Regions from separate parts of the Homo sapiens genome. Here regions 1, 3, 4 and 5 are each linked to region 2. Evidence: promoter capture Hi-C in 16 types of primary human blood cells and fetal thymus (Javierre and others, 2016). All regions are on one chromosome and are shown on one strand. Each heading gives the region's core, a stretch centred on a gene start or on the middle of the fragment in contact. The rest is flanking DNA. Distances are from core to core; before and after follow the strand shown. Region 1 has its middle 12 kb from the start of INSL5. Region 2 holds the start of SLC35D1 (solute carrier family 35 member D1). Region 3 has its middle 21 kb from the start of LINC01702. Region 4 overlaps SERBP1 (SERPINE1 mRNA binding protein 1). Region 5 overlaps DYNLT5 (dynein light chain Tctex-type family member 5).

Evidence for each region. The method cuts DNA at HindIII sites, captures the fragments that hold promoters and counts their contacts. A CHiCAGO score of 5 or more calls a contact.
Region 1: a fragment that was not itself captured here is called in contact with the fragment with the promoter of SLC35D1 in region 2 in 1 of 17 cell types (total CD4 T cells); the score reaches 5.4 in total CD4 T cells.
Region 3: a contact is called between a fragment that was not itself captured here and the fragment with the promoter of SLC35D1 in region 2, in 3 of 17 cell types (non-activated CD4 T cells, total CD4 T cells and total CD8 T cells). The highest score is 5.4, in non-activated CD4 T cells.
Region 4: a contact is called between a fragment that was not itself captured here and the fragment with the promoter of SLC35D1 in region 2, in 1 of 17 cell types (total CD8 T cells). The highest score is 6.8, in total CD8 T cells.
Region 5: a fragment that was not itself captured here is called in contact with the fragment with the promoter of SLC35D1 in region 2 in 1 of 17 cell types (fetal thymus); the score reaches 6.7 in fetal thymus.

What each region holds. Positions count from the first base shown.
Region 1 is chr1:66,788,288-66,790,987 of GRCh38, reverse strand. No RefSeq gene overlaps it. Among named protein-coding and RNA genes, the nearest start is that of INSL5, 12 kb to the left of the region's middle. The HindIII fragment of the contact is 1,546 bases long and covers 665-2,210 here.
Region 2 is chr1:67,052,714-67,055,466 of GRCh38, reverse strand. SLC35D1 (solute carrier family 35 member D1) reads left to right here and starts at 1,319. Exons shown (of 12, transcript NM_015139.3): 1 at 1,319-1,656; 2 at 2,478-2,511; 3 at 2,610-2,696. The coding sequence starts at 1,454. RefSeq lists silencers at 1,215-1,404, 1,695-1,904. The HindIII fragment of the contact is 15,835 bases long and covers 1-2,753 here.
Region 3 is chr1:67,499,977-67,502,676 of GRCh38, reverse strand. No RefSeq gene overlaps it. Among named protein-coding and RNA genes, the nearest start is that of LINC01702, 21 kb to the left of the region's middle. RefSeq lists an enhancer at 1,888-2,391. The HindIII fragment of the contact is 1,207 bases long and covers 712-1,918 here.
Region 4 is chr1:67,418,146-67,420,845 of GRCh38, reverse strand. It overlaps SERBP1 (SERPINE1 mRNA binding protein 1), which reads left to right. Exons shown (of 8, transcript NM_001018069.2): 6 at 660-837. Among named protein-coding and RNA genes, the nearest start is that of SERBP1, 11 kb to the left of the region's middle. The HindIII fragment of the contact is 871 bases long and covers 942-1,812 here.
Region 5 is chr1:66,770,722-66,773,421 of GRCh38, reverse strand. All of the region lies in intron 3 of DYNLT5 (dynein light chain Tctex-type family member 5), which reads right to left. Among named protein-coding and RNA genes, the nearest start is that of DYNLT5, 20 kb to the right of the region's middle. The HindIII fragment of the contact is 336 bases long and covers 1,155-1,490 here.

The DNA.
Region 1 (2,700 bases), core at 188-2,687, 260 kb after region 2:
ATTCTATGATGTTAAGAATTCCTATTTATAATATATTACTATAACAATATAGTTTATTTTAAATATTTAAATAATTTTGTTTATATAGGTATTATACCTTTTAATTTAAACTTACACCAGAATTTTTTGCCACTGTGAATGAGAAATTTCTTCCATGTTCATTTCTAATTACTTGTTGCAGTGCAAAGAAAAATCTTGATTTTTAAAACATTATCTTATCTCCAAGCACCTTGCCAAGTAATTTTATTAAGTTTAATAGCTGCTTGACTAATTCATTTTGGATTTTTGAGGTATGCAATATTATCATCTACAATGAAAAGATACTTCTGTCTCTTCTTTTATAGGATTTAAGCTGATTGTTTCATATTCTTGACTTACTACCTTACTCATTATTCAATAATTATTTATTGAGAGAGTAATGCGCGAGGCATGGTTCTGGGTAGTAAGAATAAAGCTGTGAGTAGAACAGAAAAAGTGCATATTATAATGGATGGCACATGTAAACAGGAGTAATATTAGATTATTATTGATGCTGAGAAGAAAATAAACCATGGAAGGGGGATGGGAAAGCTTGGGTGGGGGGATAAAGGGAATTGAGTTTTAAGCAGGGTGGCCAGGGAAGGCCTCACAGGGAAGTGATCATTAAAAAAATGTAAATCAAGCTTGTCCAATCTGTGGCCTGTGGGCTGTATGAGGTCCAGGATGGTTTTGAATACTGTCCAACACAAATTAGTAAACTTTCTTAAAACATTATGAGTTTTTTTTGGTTGTTGTTTTGTGTGTGTGTGTGTGTGTGTGTGTGTGTCTGTGTGTGTGTTTTAGCTCGTCAGCTATCGTTAGTGTTAGTGTATTTTATGTGTGGCCCAAGACAATTCCTCTTCTTCCAGTGTGGCCCAGGGAAGCTGAAAGATTGGACACCCCTGATCTAAATGATAATAACGACAGTAAACATCTCTCCCATGTTCGTAATTGTAATGGAAATGGCTTTAGCATTCACTACTCAGTATGACATTTGTTGGTTGAAATATGAATAAATAAAACAATAAATAATGAATTAATCTATATTATACATGTATATATAATATTTGTAATTATCTTAAAAGCATTATCCTATTACATATTGCTGAAGGACTCATTTTGTTGGAAATTCTTCTAAATTTCATAAAATACACATTTAATTTTATCATATGGTATTTTTCTCTTTAGTAAATGTGAAGAGTTCTGTTGAGAATCTTTCTTATGTTGAAATGTCTCTATATTCTCAGAATAAATCCATTTGATCACAGTATAGCATTCTCTAATACTCAGAAGCATTGCATTTAATATTTTATTTAGAATTTTTGTATCTGTGTTCATAAATAAAACTGATCTATATGTTTTGTCAATAAAGATTATTCTAGCCTTACAGAATGAAGGCATTATTTGTTCTTTAAAAATCTGGAAGAAAAAAGCTGTAATAGAATCTTTAGCCTCGTGACTTAAAAAAATTCACTGGAGTATAATACACATACAATAAAGTGCATGACTTTTAAGTGAAGTTTTACTTATTTGTACACAAATGAATTGTAAAAATATTTCCAATAATTAATAATGTATTCTCTTTTTTATATACCACTGCACTTTATTTGTTAGCATTTTGCTTAGCATATATTTTCATAAACAACATTGATGTTTTTTATAATACCATGTTAATAAATTTTTAAGTAACATTTATGTTTTTTCTGTAATATACTTCAGTGATTTTGCTATCAGGGTTAAGCTAGCTCCATAAAATGAGTTGGAAAGTGGTCCTTCTTTCTTTAATCTCCGAGTGTTTAAGATTGATACTATTTCTTCTTTAAATGATTGGGCCCTTAAATGGCTTTTACTTGTGCTTGTGAATTGGGATGCAAGCAAGCAATTTAACTATATATTTTAAAAAAATTATTACACCTGTCCTACCAAAGTTCTTGTTATATAACACATTTCCTTAAAGGAAAAAAATAAATATAATTATATAATTAACCAACAACATACAGTTTATTTTCCTTTAGTTTCAACATGAAATTATGAGTCTTTAAACTTGATATTTTTCATAGGAATTTAAAAAACTATTTCCCAGAAACCCCTAAACAAATCGGGCTGGATATTCTGTCCTTTTAATAGTTAGATGATTCACCCTCATCATCATCCGTGGGCAACTTTTCTGATCACAAATGTAAAGTGAAGCTTAGTGCTTCCCGTACTGGTTATACTGGTTCCTTGCCTTGCTAGGTGGGGAAATACCCTGGTGGGTGGGTGGAAAACCACAAGTCTCAAGTTATATCCTGCACTAAAATTAAAAAACAAAAGTGTACTCAAATTGGCAAGGAAAGAAATTAAGAAGAGATTACAGGAGACTTTAAACAGATAATATATATGTCTAAATAAACCTTTAGTATGTTTATTCTGTGTGAACATACTAGAGGAATATATAAATTCAAATGAGAATTAACAGGATAAAATAGGCGGCAGTAAACAGAAATGTTCAAAGGAATCAAGAAATTACTGAAGTGAGAGTTAAGACATCCGAATGAAACATTTAAAAACAGGTAGACATCAGCCACGAGAAGCTAAATTTGGAGATGTACAGGACTGTATAATAAATGTGGACTTGAGAAGAAATTGTCATTCAAAGAAGGCAGCAGCAGATGATTAAAGGTGATAAAAGAAAAAATGTAA
Region 2 (2,753 bases), core at 70-2,569:
TCTTTCTTTAAGATGGTCTTGTGCTGTTGCCCAGGCTGGAGTGCAGTAGTATGATCATAGCTCATTGCAGCCTTGACCTCCTGGGCTCAAGCCATCCTCCCACCTCAGCCTCCTGAGTAGCTGGGACCACAGGCGTGCGCCACCACATCTGGCTAATTTTTTTATTTTCTTGTAGAGAGAGGGTCTCACTTTGTTGCCCAGCATGGTCTCAAACTCCCGGGCTCAGGCATTCCACCTGCTCCCAAAGTGCTGGTATTACAGGTGTGAACCACTATACCTGGTTTACCAAAATATAAAAATAAGAAAAAAAAAAAAAAGAAATTTAAAAAGATACAGACCAAGCACTTAGAAAAATAATTCAAAGTTCTTCTTTCCTAATCTATTAAAGTTCAATACGTAATTTCTTTGCTTAAACCGATCATAATGATTTGCTTCTGTTATACAATAATGACTACCATTTACCGAAAACTAGCTCTTTGCTAGCTACACATCCACAGAGATCAGGTTCAGGGAGGTCATCTAATTGGTCCAAGACACACAATAAGGAGTGAGTGTGTTGGTGGGGGGGGGGGGGGTCGTCATTTCTAGGAATCCTACAATTGGAAATCAAGTCTTTTAGGCTCCAAACACCTTGTGCTTTCCCCAATCCCCAAGCTGCTTATCTTGCTACTTTTTGGGATATGTCAACATTTTTCTTAAAACAAACAAACGAAACTTCTCAATCTGAAAAGTATTGTTTGGTGTTTTCTGGGTTCAGAAAATGTAAGAAGCCTGAGGCATTGCGGAATGAAATTTTCGTTGAGTGTTTACTGTTGATCCACATCTGATACTTTTGAAGGGTTTTTACCCCCTGCAAGAGAGACTAAAAGAGCATTCAGAATTAGTCTAGACGCAGTGTACTGTAACTACTTGGCCGGCCACCTGTAACAGAGGGGAGGAGGGTCTGCACTTAGTTGCGGCAGTTATCCGGAGAATACGGCCTTCCAGCCCCTCTGCCACCAGACTCCCCACGCCCCAGGTACGCGCCCCGCGGAGAGACCCAGCGCGTGCTCGTGCGCAGGCGCAGGGCGACTGTCACCCGGAGTCTGTGGTTTGTCGCCCGGCGCTCTGGTGTCTCGATGTAGTTCCCCTGGCTTCTCCTTATCCGCCTCGGGCAGGGGGGTCGCCACTGCCCCTTCTCCAGGCTCTCTCCAACCCCTGCCCAGGCTAAGCCCGGCGCGGCCCTACTCTCTGACCCCGCGTTGCACAATGCCCGAGCAAAGTCTCCAGGGGTGTGAACCCCGGCGTCCCTGCCCCTGGGCGGGGACAGGCGGCGGCCAAGCGGGGAGTCGAGGCGGCGAGCGCGCAGCTGGCCTAGTCTGCGGTCCCCAACTCCTGGAGTCCCCTGGGAGCTGCCGCTGCAGGCCCCCGAGCCGCTAGGCCCCGCCGCCAGGCCACCGCTGCTGCGGCAGCCATGGCGGAAGTTCATAGACGTCAGCATGCTCGGGTTAAAGGAGAAGCCCCCGCGAAATCCTCCACACTCCGAGATGAGGAGGAGCTGGGGATGGCGTCGGCCGAAACGCTGACCGTGTTTCTGAAGCTGCTGGCCGCCGGCTTTTACGGCGTGAGCTCCTTCCTGATCGTGGTGGTGAATAAGAGCGTGCTCACCAATTACAGGTAGGGCCGAGGCGGCGGCGGCCCAGGCCGCGGAGGAGGAGCGGGCGGCGGCGGCGGCGCGGCGCCGGCTCCCTGGACTTTGACTGCCAAAGTTAAAGCCGAACAAAGTTGGGCGGGAGCTGGGGAGGGCGGGCGGCTGACGCGCGCGGCCCGGGCAGCGGAGCCGGCCTGGCGAGCGGGCCTGTGGCAGGGGTCCGCTCCCTGCGCGGAGCTCCGGCCGGCCCGGCACATTTGGGGCTCGCCTGCCATGCCCTGGGCGCACCGCCCCGAAAACCCTGCCCTTCAGAGAGATGGAGCAAAGTGATTTGCTTGGTGACTTTTGAGCCGTTATGCCTGTCGATCAGGGAGGAGAGCGAGGGAAGCCTCCCTCCTCCGCAGCCTGGACAGGGGGCCGGGGCTTCAGTGTCCCCTGCACCCGCTGACAGCCTCTGGGGACGTACGCATCCTCAACCCAGCAGACAATTATTCCCTTGCTAACACTGGGACCCAGAGGCAGAAGTTGGTTGTTTTTTTTTTTAAGGTGTGTGAAATCGTTGCAGAGATCTGTATCTGCACTGCCTTGAGAAATCCTTTGCAGGCAGCGGACTGAAACTGTAGACTCGGACAAGATGGGACAAGCGGCCGCCCGAGGCTACATCAGCGGGGTGGACTGACAACCAACAGGCAGAGAGTTTTCTCCCAAGATTTTTGTTTGATTTAGGGGCGGACGTTGATGTGGCTTGTATCGGAATGCCTTATTAACGTTGCCGATGTGCAAATTGAATTCACGGAGCTAAGTTAGGTTTGTTCTGATCTTGTTTTTTTCTTTGCCCTTTTTGTAGATTTCCCTCCTCACTATGTGTTGGACTTGGCCAGGTTAGTTGGAATCCTCACCATTACGTGGTTTATGTTGTTAGAACTTCTGTGTGTGTCTTTATGTGTAGAACAGTGAATCTGTGTTCTCTTGTTTACAGATGGTGGCCACAGTGGCAGTTCTCTGGGTGGGAAAGGCGCTCAGAGTAGTCAAGTTTCCTGACCTTGACAGAAATGTACCTCGAAAGGTAAAAGAAGAAAAGCGATACTTTATTTTGTGAAATGAAGTCAGTATGTATTAACAT
Region 3 (2,700 bases), core at 66-2,565, 450 kb before region 2:
CTCACTGCAGCCTTGACCTCCTGGGCTCAAGTGATCCTTCCACCTCAGACTCTGAGTAGCTGGGACTACAGGTGCGTGCCACCACACTTGGCTAATTTTTTGTATTTTTTGTACAGACAGGGTTTTGCCATGTTGCCCAGCCTGAATTCCTTGGCACAAGCAATCCACCCACCCACCCACCTCAGCCTCCTAAAGAACTGGGATTATAGGCATGAGCCACCATGCCCAGCTGAGAAGGAATAATTTTCAAATGTAGCAGTCTCATAGGCAGCTGGAACACCAGGACTGAAAAGGAATGGGGCTGAGGGGTCGACACCTTCCTTCCCACATTGAGATCTTTCTGCAGACCAGGCTTGCTTCTTTCAGCTGTTGAAGACAGCTTCTTTCAGTTGGTCAATGACCTCTGTGTCTCTGCAGGAACTATTTGCTCTTTGCATAATGTAGTGGTTAAAAACTCAAGTATTAGAGCCAGGCTTCCTGGGTTTGAATCCCAACTCTAACATTTACCAAATGTAGGATTTCAGGTGATTTACTTAGCACCCCACCTGCCTTGTACCATGATTTCTTCATTTGCAAACTGGGATAGTAATTATCTGTATCTCATTGGGTTATTGTGAGGATTCAATGAGTTCATATGTGTAAAGGCTTAGAACAGTTCTCAGTAAATGTCAGTCACCATTATTATCTCATAAGGAGATTATAATATAAGCTTCTTGAAGACCCAGTTGGTGTTCTTCATCTTTTCCTGGCACAGAGATGGTGCTGAATAATAATGAACAGCACAGGCTTTGCAGTCCCAGAGGTCAAATCTCAAATCAGTATTCTACTCAGTAGCTGGGTGAGAATAAGTGTCCTCCTTGTAAAACTGAGATAATAGGCTGGGCATGGTGGCTCACGCCTGTAATCCCAGCACTTTAGCAGGCTGAGGCAGTTGGATCACGAGGTCAGGAGTTCGAGACCAGCCTGGTCAACATGGTGAAACCCTGTCTGTACTAAAAATACAAAAAATTAGCCGGGCGTGGTGACCGGCACCTGTAGTCCCAGCTACTCAGGAGGCTGAGATAGAAAAATCGTTTGAACCCGGGAGGCAGAGGTTGCAGTGAGCCAAGCTCGAGCCACTGCACTCCAACCTGGGCGACAGAGCTAGGCTTCGTCTAAAAACAAACAAAAAAAACACCTGAGATAATAATACCTACTTTGTAGAATTGCTGTATTGAATGAGATAATGTATGTAAATCTCCAGGGACACAGCAAACCTTAAAAAATGCAAACTCTTATTATCCGGGCTAGGTATAGTGTTGTGGGTGTGGAACCAGACTGCTTGGTTTTGAATTCCCGTTCTGCTATACAGTTGCTCTGGGATCTTGGCAAGTTACTTAAGTTCCTTGGACCTCTGTTTTTCTCTCTGTAAAGTGGGAATAATGGTAATAGGGTTGTGGTGTGGCTCAAATAAGAAAATGCATATATTGGCCCAGAGCTTGAGCCAATGCCAGCTTCTTATGATTTGCTTTATAAATCGATGAAGTGTTGAGAAGGTGTTTTAAAATGCACTTGCTAAAGAACAAAATCCATGAGCTCCATAACTGCAAAGACCCATCCTGAAGTCAGATTCTTATTGAGCCAAACCTCGAAAGCAAAGATAGCTCTGAAAGGCAGTAGCCAGGGAACTAAGCCCCTTCTCTAGGTAAGACGTGGGGACAATTAGCACCTAGAATCATAGGCTGCTAGAGCCAGAAGGATCTTTGTGGCTAGTTCATTGTGGGTTGTTTCCTCCTGAGTAATTGAAACCCAGGGAGGTCAGGGGACCCCACCCTAGTTGTGGACTGAGCCAGGACCAAGATTCAGGTCAGTTTAGTGGTTTCGTCACTGCAGCACGATGCTTCCCCATTCCGCAGCCCCCACCTGTGAAAATGAAGCTTGTAGATGCTGCCTATCGCCTGTTCCAAGGCGCCAGGCAGCCGCGAACTTCAAACTCCCCCTGGGCTAAAAGTTCAGCCAGAGCAGTAGATTCAAGCAAGAATGGTGTGGGATCCACTCTTGGCCTGTAGAGGGCGCTCTGAGCACAGGCCAGGGAGCTCGAGCCTGGGACGCGCCACGGCTACGTGGCCTCCAGGGCGAGTGAGGATGGCTGGCTGATTGCTTTTCGCGGGGCATGGGGAAAAGCCTTCAGCCCTTACGCCATCCAGCAGGTGAATGCACTTATGTCCAACAGTAGGTATCACACTTTTTGGTCTCGTGACTCTTTTATACTCTTATTATTGAGGATCCCAAAGAGCTATTGTTTATATGGGTTATATAGATATTTACCATATTAGAAATTAATAATGAGAAATGTTTAAAACATATACCCATTTAAAAATAGCAACAATAAATAATTAAATATTAGCATAAATAGTATTTTTGCAAAAAAAAAAATTTCCAAAACCCCCCAAAAATGCATTTTTTACAAATCCCTTTAATGTGTGTCTTAATAGAAAAGACCTAAGCCAGGGGCGGTGGCTCACGCCTGTAATCCGAGCACTTTCGGAGGCCAAGGCAGGTGGATCACGAGGTCAGGAGTTCGAGATCAGCCTGACCAATATGGTGAAACCCCGTCTTTACTAAAAATACAAAAATTGGCGTGGCGGCACGTGCCTGTAATCCCAGCTACTCAGAAGGCTGAGGCAGGAGAATCGCTTGAACCCGGGAGGCGGAGCTTGC
Region 4 (2,700 bases), core at 128-2,627, 370 kb before region 2:
TAAATAATGAAACCAGTGTGTGTTTGTGGATAGTTCTATTAGTAGTGAATCCATGGCCTCCTTTCCATATACAGGTTGGTTTGAAAATTGGAGTATAAGGATTTTAGGATTTGTAGAAACACGGCTATTGTTTTGATTTGCTCTAAGTGCTAGTTGCTGAAACAAAGCATAGAGGAACAGTTCTTTTATATTCCAAAATTTGAACCCTGGTTGCTGACAGACATCCTAGAGGATTACCTTCTTGTATGTTATTAAGAGTTACATATTGTGGGAATTATGGAAATTAAAAATGTGGTTTAGGAGAAGATAGGCTGAGGATTTTACATAAGAGGGTAGTTTTTAAACAAGGTAGTGTTTTTAAGAAATGTGTATTTTAGTATTCGTAAAGCCAGTTCTAGATTGTATTACTGATAAATGATCATTTAAGAGTTCATAAGTATGAATTCCATATTCCTTACTTGTCTCTAATTAGCAAACACTGAATTCCTGGTCTCTACCAAGTTGCTTAGTTACATAGGAAACTAGGGTACCCTCATCCTTGAATAATCTTTCTCTAAAAGATTACAAGGTTAATTTTCTCAATTAAAATCATAAATTTAAAATACTTTTATGTAATATCAGCTCTCTACCAGGTATAAAACTTGAAAACCTTTTCACAGGGAGAATGAAGTTGAAGAGGTAAAAGAGGAGGGTCCAAAAGAGATGACTTTGGATGAGTGGAAGGCTATTCAAAATAAGGACCGGGCAAAAGTAGAATTTAATATCCGAAAACCAAATGAAGGTGCTGATGGGCAGTGGAAGAAGGGATTTGTTCTTCATAAATCAAAGAGTGAAGAGGTAAAATTAAGTTTTGTCGTGTTTGAAAATGTTCAGATGTGACTTGAATTGTATTTATAATTTTTGTTTTAAAATTTCACATGGGTTATTTGTCTGTTAAAGCTTTACATAGGATCATTTGGGGCAGATAATTTGCTTTATAAGGAAAATAAACTGTATTATCACATATTCTAAGAAATTTAGTCCTTTGATCAATTTGTAATTATGTTTTATGTGGTAGAGTTACTTTTTCCTAAAAAGCTGTTAGTGGAGTATCTTGTAGTTATTGGTGTTCAGAAATATGATAGTTCTTTTCAAAGTTGTGGTTGTATTTTTGAAATCTTGCCAAACTGGGGATCATTAAAGGGCTGTGGTATTATGGTGTTAGGTTGAAATCTTGACATTTTCATATGGTTTAACCTAAAATGTAAGTGACTTCATTTAGAATTCAACTTTTGAAACTGTCTGCCTATACCATATATAATGGCCAGGACACTCAGTAAATGGCAATGTGCATTTTGTCTAAGGAATGACGACTTTAAAAACCAAAGTATATGTGGGTTTTACTTAAGAAACATGGAAACTAGTGAAAATACAGTTGACTTGTTGAACAACATGAGGATGCTAGGGGCACTGACCCCGCAGATCAATGCACATGTAACCTTTGACTCTCCCAAAACTTAACTACTAATAACCTGTTGACTGAAAGTCTTAGTGATAACATAACCAGTTAACACATTTTGTATGTTGCGTATTATATACTGTGTTTTTACAGTAAAGTAAGCTAAAGAAAATGTTGAGAAAATATATTTACTGTTCATTAAGTGGAACTGGATCATCACAAAGGTCTTTATTTTGGATAGGAAGAAAAGGGATTGGGCTTGCTTGTCTCAAGACTGACAGAGGCAGAATGTTCAAAGCCACGTTGTTCAAGGGTCAACTGTATTGGAGAAAGTCACATTGATGGCTTTTGATTTGGTAGCTTCCGTTTAAGCTTTGGGGTGTGTTCTTAGAGGAATGTTTCAGTGCGGCTTCCTGTTTGGCTTTAAAAACTCATACAAGCCCTAACTATATTATTTCTTCTCCTAAATTCATTTTCTCTATCAGCTTCCTTTAACCTTTTGACATTTGTGTTTGATTTATTCATATCATAAATTGGGCTGTGCCAGAAATCCAGACTGAGTTTTATCATCCTAAGGTAAAGTTAAATTAAAATATTGTGAGGGCAAACCCTTTCAATAAGGTATTAGTTATTTTTATTTTTTTTTTTTGAGACAGAATCTGGCTCTGTCGCCCAGGCTGGAATGCAGTGGCACCATCTCTGCTTACCGCAACCTCCACCTCCCGGATTCAAACAGTTCTTGTGTCTCAACCTCCTCAGTAGCTGGGATTACGGACACTCGCCACCATGCCCGGATAATGTTTGTGTTTTTAGTAGAGATGAGGTTTCATCATGTTGGCCAGGCTGGTCTCAAACTCCTGGCCTCAGTGATCCCCGCCTGCCTCAGCCTCCCAAAGTGCTGGGATTATAGGCGTGTGCCACCATGCCCAGCCAATAAGCATAATTTTTTAAACTGCAAAATGGCTATAAGACAAACTTGGAAACATTTTAAAATAAAATGGAGGTTAAAAAGATTAAAAGTTTTTTTAGGTTTAGAGATGATTTTTAACATTTACTTCATATGAGTAGTAAATGAGGACATTGTCTTTTTTAAGTCCTGTAGAAAAAAAACTGCATTAGAACACGTGGTTTCAGCCAGGCGCAGTGGCTCACACCTGTAATCCCAGCACTTTTGGGAGACTGAGGCGGGCGGATCACCTGAGGTCGGGAGTTCAAGACCAGTCTGACCAACATGGAGAAACCCCGTCTCTACTAAAGATACA
Region 5 (2,700 bases), core at 73-2,572, 280 kb after region 2:
GTAAAATCAATGCTGAGAGATTGACAGGCTCTAAGAAAACCTGACATAGAGACAGGGCCTGAGCACTTCATGGAAGCTGAACTCAAATAATCTCTCTCTTTCTCTCTCAATATTTTGGATCTACTTTCTACTGTGCTGGCTTCATTCTCAAGGCAGGCTGTCTTGATGTGGTAGCAAAGATGGCCGCCAATCTAGTTTGGCTCGGTGCTCGCAGTCCATGTTTGCAAACAACCAGGTGCCACTATACTCAGTTCCAGAAAAAGTCCTGTGGAAAACTTATTCCATAATTAATATGAAGTTACAATGAATATCATGGAAGGCTTTTATTCTTAGTGATCTATAGTAAGGTCCTTGAGTCAGTCACTTTCAGGAGTAGTAACATGATGAATGGAGAGATTTAAACATATAACATCATTTGAGTCTCATAGCATCCATGTGATGTATAGACTATTATCCCTATTTACAAGTGAAGACACTGAGATTCAATGATGCTAAATACCTTGCTCAAGGAATTAGCAAAATTAGTATTCAAATTCAGATACGACAGATGCCACAGCCTGCATTTTCTTTTATATTTGTTTTAGTAATTAATGAGAAATATATAAATGGTATTTTATTAAAAGAAACACACTTTCCTTTTCTATTCCCTTTTCTCCTCTCATGAATGATACTCATGTTTCATCTCATTTTTTGTAGCTGTAATTATTTATGTAAATGCTCTCATTTAAGATGTGTTTAGATGAGGCAAACATTATTGAATGGAATGAAAAATTAATTAAACATAATAGTGCTGGTGATTGGCTGATATTTCCCTCTACTTTTCTGGCCAGTATTACATTGTAAAGATATGATAAACTATTTACCAAAGTCCCACTGATATAGTTTGGATATTTGTCCCCTTCAAATCTCATATTGAAATGTGATCCCCAGTGTTGGAGGTGGGGCCTGGTGGGAGGTGTTGGGGCCAGGAAGGTGGATCCCTCATGAATGGCTTGGTGCTGTCCCAGCGGTAATTACTGAGTTCTTGCTCTATAGTTCTTCCTCTATTAGTTCACATGAGAGCTGGGTGTTTAAAACAGCCTGGCACCTCTCTTGTTCCCTCTCTTGCCATGTGACATGCCAACTCTCCTTCCCTTCTGCCATGCCTAAAAGCTTACTGAGGTCTTACCAGAAGCAGATGTTGGCACCACGTTTCCTGTATAGTCTCTAGAACCATGAGCCAAATAAACCTGTTTTCTTTATAAATTACAGTCTCAGGTATTTCTTTATAGCAATGCAAAAACGGACTAATACACTCACAAAATACCTTTCATATGTGAAATAAACCCAGAAACAAGTAGAAGTGGAAACACAGTTTTGATTAAGTATTAATAAAATGGCTGGTTGAATGCTATAAAAAGGGAATTGTCAAGCATAAAATATTTTAATTATTAAAAAATTCACATAGACTATTGTAGGAAAATACAGGTATATTTCATCTATACTAAGCTTTTTCTAAAATTACTTTTCTAATGTGGTTCATACTCAGTACTTCTAAAACTGATAAGATGCTTTATTTGAGAAAACAAGTTGCAAAAAATATCCTTATGTAGAAACACAGAGATTCACATTTCACTGGCCCTGTCTTGTTCAAATCTGATTCAAACCCTTCCAGCATGCACAGTTCAAAGTCATAGACACCCCATGGCTAAGAACTTTTAGTTGCAAGTGAGGGAAAACCTGACCCAAACTTAGCTTGCCTAACTGAAAAGTTAAAGGGTAGCCAATTGGATTTAGGACTCAAATGATGACACCAGGATTCTGTTGTTTTCTCTCAGTTTCAAGTCAGGGCAAGGTGGCAGATCCTGCCAGAGCCCCTACATTCCTTCAAGTTTCAGGGCTTTATGTTCTTCTGCAACAGGCCAAACAACATTTTCTGAATTTAATCTCAAAGTCTTTGATTGGATTCACCATGGTTATATGCCATCCTAGAATCAGTCACTGCTCTATCTATAAAGCCAGTGCCAGCTTCATTAGAATGCTAGGATCAAAAGTGGTGATGTTGGTGGAATTTCAAAGGAAATTTAGTGAGGTTACCAGAGAAGTATAAAAGTATATTGGATGGCAGGAATATTAGCTGTCCACCACAGGCACTGTGAAAATACCAGTAGATTGGCTAATTATGGAGCCGTGTAATCCATGTAGTCTTGGGGACTCCTGTAGAAAACTGGCTACAAGGCCAGAGGGGACAGGCTGATGGTCTATAATTTTCTTGGGGTTAACTGGCCACAGATGGAATCACCTTGGCCCATAGAGTCTTTCTTTGCCCCTTGGTAAATCTCTGTGGAATTTCCATATAGCAGTAATTATGTATGAATTCAGGTAATAGTGGGCAGGTACGCTTTTAGAGAAAACAAGTGGGTCTATGAGGAAACATGGATGGGAAAAGATATTTGCCACGGACTCCACCTGGGAGTATAGCGGCAGGTGCAAAGATCTTTGTTTTCAAAGACTCAAAACCTCAGTGGTAATGGATAAACGTCTCTGTCAACAGGGGACTATGAGTCATTTGCCTTTGCTTTGAGTTTTTTTTTTTCCTTCACCTAACAACACTGATTGGTTTTGTTGGATAAAATATCAATACTTATCTCTTTCATTTAAGTCATATCTATGTACCCAGAAATACTCAGTGAATTTGTTAAGTCAGTAGTATACTGTATG